Regions from separate parts of the Homo sapiens genome. Here region 1 is linked to region 2. Evidence: promoter capture Hi-C in human tissues and cell types (Jung and others, 2019). All regions are on one chromosome and are shown on one strand. Each heading gives the region's core, a stretch centred on a gene start or on the middle of the fragment in contact. The rest is flanking DNA. Distances are from core to core; before and after follow the strand shown.

What was found. Contacts are between HindIII fragments. The study calls those that stand out against the background at their distance.
Region 1: a contact is called between a fragment that was not itself captured here and the fragment with the promoter of DENND4C in region 2, in 1 of the 25 tissues and cell types used here (H1 embryonic stem cells).

Annotation. Positions count from the first base shown.
Region 1 is chr9:19,426,369-19,429,461 of GRCh38, reverse strand. The region is part of intron 3 of ACER2 (alkaline ceramidase 2); the gene reads right to left. Among named protein-coding and RNA genes, the nearest start is that of ACER2, 19 kb to the right of the region's middle. The HindIII fragment of the contact is 4,283 bases long and covers 1-3,093 here.
Region 2 is chr9:19,229,401-19,232,245 of GRCh38, reverse strand. It overlaps DENND4C (DENN domain containing 4C), which reads right to left and starts at 1,553. Exons shown (of 33, transcript NM_001330640.2): 1 at 1,413-1,553. RefSeq lists silencers at 1,006-1,145, 1,366-1,735, 1,816-2,115 and enhancers at 749-1,254, 1,255-1,761, 2,146-2,395. The HindIII fragment of the contact is 7,148 bases long and covers 1-2,845 here.

The sequences.
Region 1 (3,093 bases), core at 272-2,771, 200 kb before region 2:
CACTTGGAAGGCTGAGGTAGGAGGATCACTTGAGCGCAGGAAGCAGAGGTTGCAGTGAGCCATGACTGTGCCACTGCACTCCAGCCTGGGCAACAGAGTGAGATCCTGTCTCCAAAAAACAAAACAAAAAAAGTAGATACAATTAGCCTATAATAGTTCCTTGTTCTCATTTTTTTCTTAAAATAAAAACTCTAAAAATTATTAATAACCATCAGCAATTCAGTATATGTCCTAAAGAGTCTCAGGACATTTTAGGCAAGATGAAAGAAAGTTTTTTTCTATAAACCCAACATTTATATCCTATTGACATAATGAACATTAATAATTTCCCTACATAAAATATGTACAACTATTACATATCAATAAAAAATTCAGGCCAGGCACAGTGGCTCATGCCTGTAATCCCAGCACTTTGGGAGGCCGAGGCGAGCGGATCATGAGGTCAGGAGTTCGAGACCAGCCTGGCCAACCTGGTGAAACCCTGTCTCTACTAAAAATACAAAAATTAGCTGGGCATGGTGGCAAGTGCCTGTAATTCTAGCTACTTGGGAGGCTGAGGCAGGAGAATCATTTGAACCCAGGAGGCAGAGGTTGTAGTCAGCCAAGATCGCACCACCGCTCTCTAGCCTGGGTGACAGAGCAAGACTTCATCTCAAAAAAAAAAAAAAAAAAAAAAAAAAAAAAACCCACTTGTCCATAAGCCATTCATAATAACCACCAGAACTTACTGAGTCTTTACTCTGTGTGAGCCATTGTACTATAGGCCTTACGTAATTTTCCCATGTATTTCTGATCCCATCAGGAAGATACTTTTGTCATCTCCAATTTATAGACAAGCAAAACAGGGTCCCAGAGCCTTTTTTTTTTAGGTTAATTGTTATTCAAAGCCATGTTGTCTGATCCAAACTTACTTAGCCACCACACTCTCCTGTCTCTTCTCCAAAAATCTCACATTAAAACTGTTTTTAATGTGTGTTTAGAATATTCCAGCAAAGGCCAGATATGGTGGCTCATACCTGTAATCCCAGTACTTTGGGAGGCCAAGGCAGGCAGATCACCTGAGGTGAGGAGTTCGAGACCAGCCTGGCCAACATGGCAAAACCCCGTCTCTACTAAAAATACAAAAATTAGCCACATGTGGTGACATGCACCTGGAATCCCAGCGACTCGGGAGGCTGAGGCAGGAGAATCACTTGAACCTGGGAGGCAGAGGTTGCAGTGAGCCGAGATCGTACTATTGCACTCCAGCCCGGGCAATAAGAGTGAAACTCTGTCTCAAAAAAAGAAAAAACAAAATGAAACAAAAAAGAATATTCCAGCAAAGTCTAGATCAAGAAAAAAAGAAAAGAAAAGAAAGAGAAAGAAAGAGAGAGAGAGAGAGAAGGAAAGGAAAGGAAAGGAAAGGAAAGGAAAGGAAAGGAAAGGAAAGGAAAGGAAAGGAAAGGAAAGGAAAAAGGAAAAAGGAAAGGAAAGGAAAAAGGAAAAAGGAAAGGAAAGGAAGGGCATGATGGCTCACACCTGTAATCCCAGCACTTTGGGAGGCCAATGTGGGCAGATCACAAGGGCAGGAGATCGAGACCATCCTGGCTAACATGGTGAAACCCCATCTCTACTAAAAATACAAAAAATTAGCCAGGCGTGGTGGCGGGCGCCTGTAGTCCCAGCTACTCGGGAGGCTGAGGCAGGAGAATGGCGTGAACATAGGAAGTGGAGCTTGCAGTGAGACCAGATTGTGCCACAGCACTCCAGCCTGGGCAACAGAGAGACAGTCCGTCTCAGAGAAAAGAAAGAAAAGAGAAGAGAAGAGAAGAGAAGAGAAAAGAAAGGAGGGGGGGAGGGAGGGAAGGGAGAAAGAAAGAAAAGGAGATAAACGTTTACTATTTGGTAAGTTCAGGCAGAAAAACCGGAAATCCCTGATCTACAGAAATCCTGGTTTTGACATGAATTTTTTGGTCTGGTCTGCCACTTCCACTGCAGAGCTGCCACCTGTCCCGTGTCATGGGGAGTGAAGTACAAGCAAAGGGGCTTGGCCTTCTTGCCCTCCCTGGTCACTGGAAAATTGAAGATGTGCAAATAGACTTGAAATCCTTTTTTACTTTTCCCTTAACATGTACCTTTTATTTCTTTGCTCATTAAAATTGTCAATGTACATTATCTCCATCGATTTGTATGCATATCTCAGAAATGCTAGGCAGAACTCTCCTCTCCATGCCCCAGGCAGTCAGGAGAGCTAACTTTGACTGAGCCCTCTCCATGTTGCTTAGTATTATGCTAAGTGCCCTACAGGATCGTCTCAAAGATGAACACTATTGTTTACCTAATTTTACAGATAGGGAAATAGAAAGAGTCAAGACAAGTCATACAGTCTGCAAGTTGTAAAGCTAGGATTCAAACCCAGATTGCTTCCAAAGCCAGGGATATATACACATATGGTACCCAGTGCCTCCAAAGGAGGACAGAGTGGCTATATCTTCACATCTTCCCCAGAGAAATGCTGCAGGCTGCTGGTGATGAAAAAGTCCCAATAGTCACAGACAACTCTGCCTCACAATATGCTTTCATTATTTTTTTTCTATTTTTTTAATGGGGTTTCACTGTGTTGCCCACGCTGGGCTCAAGAGATCTTCCTGCCTCAGCTTTTTGAGTGGCTGGGACTACAGGCGTGCACCACCCCAACTGGCTCTGTTTTCATTATTAAAGTTGGTAAGCTTTAACTACCAATGTCATCACCCCATTTTCTTCTTTCCTGCTCAAACAACTTTCCCCCTACCTCCAAGAATCAAGAAAAGAAAAGAAAAAAAAGGTTTTCTATAAGGAATACATTAAAAACTGTCCCTTGGAATTTCAACCCAGGCCTCAAGAATGTCACAAACAAATACACAAAACGTTTATTCCCATTTCTTCAATTTCTTACTCAGACTTGAAAAATAAGATATCTGAGAAAAGCGATTCCTCAGCTCTCAATCTAACGTACACCAGGTTTAGAGAAAGCATCATGGTGACTGGTGGGTATCTTTCAAGACAGGAGGGGAAGGGGAAGGGAGGGGAAAGGAGGGGAAGGGAAAGGAGGAGAGAGAGAGAGAGAGAGAGAGA
Region 2 (2,845 bases), core at 304-2,803:
TATGACAGGCAGATCATGTTCATGAATACAAATCTAACTTCATTGCCGACTTCCCAGTCTCACAGCAAGACGGCAGTTTACCAACTCTTTAACAGTAATACAAAGAACAGGACAGAAAATATAGTTTCTTTTTTGCATGCTATAGTGATCAAGAATAAAGGATACCTTTAATGTTCAAAGATGAAAACTTCCTTTTGCAACTAATATTGCTCTTATCGCGTGTACACAGAAAAATCATACAACGCTCTGCATTTCTGATAGAGTAATACACACTATCACATCAAATCAAGTATTTATCCAGAACTTAGCGCCTTAGCACTAACGTTCTCCCCTCTCATTATACACAGACCGGAAGGGAAAACCTATTCCTACGTAAATTAGGGCCTAGGAAGAACGCCTCAACACGGGTTTGCACACAATTAAGCAGGCTCAGTGGGTCAATTTCTCAGGCTACAACGCTTGACAGTATCTCGGAGGCACAAAGAGACAGCTGAGGGTTCACTACTGGAAATGACACTTTCCCTCAAATTTGCACAAGTACCCGCGGTAACTACCCTAAATTTTCCCGTGTGACAAACATACATAAGGGGAGAAGGAGGCGGTACTATTTAAAAACTGGGTAATTCCTTATTAGTGCAGATAAAAGACGGTCTTCGAGAGGGAAAAGGTCTATCAAGCAGAAAAGGGGAGGAAAAAAAAAAAGACGTGACAGCATTCTTAAAACAGAAAAAGTTACAGCTCTTTACAGGAGTCAGCCTTAGGACTTCATTCCTTGGTTTTGTGTTTAGTCACTCCAGAGTTAAAAGGATACTGCCCTCCTAGAAAGTCATCCCCGACAAAGAAGCCCTGAGGATCGGCCACCGTAAGACAGAGAAGGAAATGTCTTCAATTCACCAGAGACACCTGCCCAGGTCCCCCTCCTCCCCGTTGTCCCCGACACTTCTCAGTCCCCCGACTCCTCTCGAGACTGCCCGCCACCCCTGGCTCTAGCTCTCCGCTCTCTCAGCCTCGACCCCCTCTGGGAAGCCCCGATCCTGCTCCCTCCGCACCCCGGCCCCCACCAAAGCGGCCGTCGCCCCGGCGGTCCCCCGGGCCCAGACCCCTCGCGCTTGTACGCAAACGATTCTCATGGGCCCGGCGGGCGACGCGGGGAGGCTCTTCAGGGGCAGCCTTTCCCCGACTGCATCCCGCAGGATCCGGGGACTCCCCGCCCCCGGAAACCGCGGAGAAACTAGGCCACGAACGCCAGCCGCGGCCACTCTCCGCCTCCTCGGCGACCCCCCGCGGGCCAGCCACTCGGAACTCAGCCCTCCGGGCTCTACCTGTCCCGCGCCCTCCCAGCCTTGCAGCGCAGGCCCCGCGAGGGCACGGCGCAGGCTTCCTCCGCCAAAGGCCCCGCGCCGCAGCCTCACCTGCTGCCTGCTCCTCTGTCAGCGCAGCCCCGACACGGCTTCTTCCTGGGGCAAGAAAGCACCGGATTCGCGGACTGGGCGCGCTCGGCAGGGCAGGGCGGGGGACTAGCTCCAGCGGCCGCCGCCGCCTCAGTCCGGTCTGCGCCTGCGCCGCCTCGCGGGCAGGGTCTCCGAGGGGCGCCGCCTACAGCCAGGGGCGATGGCCGGAGCGCTGGCCCGCGCGGGTGCCTCCGCGCTGTGAGCCGTCGGACAGTGCGGGCGGCGCGTCGCCTAGGAGCTGCCCGCGGCGCAGCCGTCCCAAGACCTGACCGCCATGTTTCTGTTCCCTTTTTCTCCCCCGCCTTCCGCCCCTTTCCACAAAACAGCACTTTCTTTTCCCCCTCCCTCTCCCTTTCCTCCTGCGGGGGCGGGTGGAAAAGGGCGGGGGGTGGGAGGGAGAAGACGCAGGGAGGAGGGGGGCGGTGCGGTGCTCAGGCCCCTCCCCCGGGGAGGGCCGAGGCCCTGCAGCCACCGCTCCCCTCCCCCGCCCGACCCCTGTGCGACCCCCGCGGGGCGCGGGGTCTGAGCCTTGCGGGCCTCCGATCCCCTCCTCAGCGTTCGCGCGGCCGAGCCTGCAGAAACAGAGCTGGGGAGAAAGCGCTCTGGAGGCCGCTGTGCACCCCTTCCTGCAGGGCTCAGACTGGCGGTGTGATGTGGGTTTATTGCCTTGGCCTGAGGCAGGTGGCGGCTGCTTCTCTCGGAGTTTTCAAAGACAGGGAAAGTGATGCCGAGTGGCTGAAGGTCACTGAGGACAGTGCCGGGAGATACGTGAAGATTCCTTCCCAGGGAAGGAATCTGGAATTCCCACGCATGAGTAGAGGGCTCTAGAGAGACCCGCGCGCTGGCCCTTCCCGAAACCCCTTGGCTCCAGTGCACCATGTGAGTCCCTGGCCGCGCTCGGTGTCTCTCCTTCGGCCCAGATTTGGGGATGGGAATTCCTAATGGAGAAATCGCTCATTTGCATAGTCAGTACCCTCACGCCTCCTAAGTGTAGCCTCATTATCGACACAGACGCCTGCAGAGTCGTTTCTCTATAATGCAAATTTTGCAGGATATTTTTGAACAACGTTTTTGAGTTATCATAGTAAATGAAAAAGCAATTACTAGTTATTTAGGAAGAAGGAAATGGTTTGAAGTAGAGATAACTTTTTTACCTCTGGGGGGAAAAAAAGGCGAATGACTTCAGATTCCATGGCAGGTCAAAATCAGAACTGGTAAGATTTCTGCATATCTGGTGAGTATCCACATAAATAATCATTTTCCTGAAAATTACACTCTCCTTATTTAATCTGTATTTTTGCATAAAAATGTGAGATTATACCTGGGTCATAAATGCACTGCTGTCCATTTATTTCTGAAGTTTATTGCATAGCCATGGATAATTTGAGTTTTAT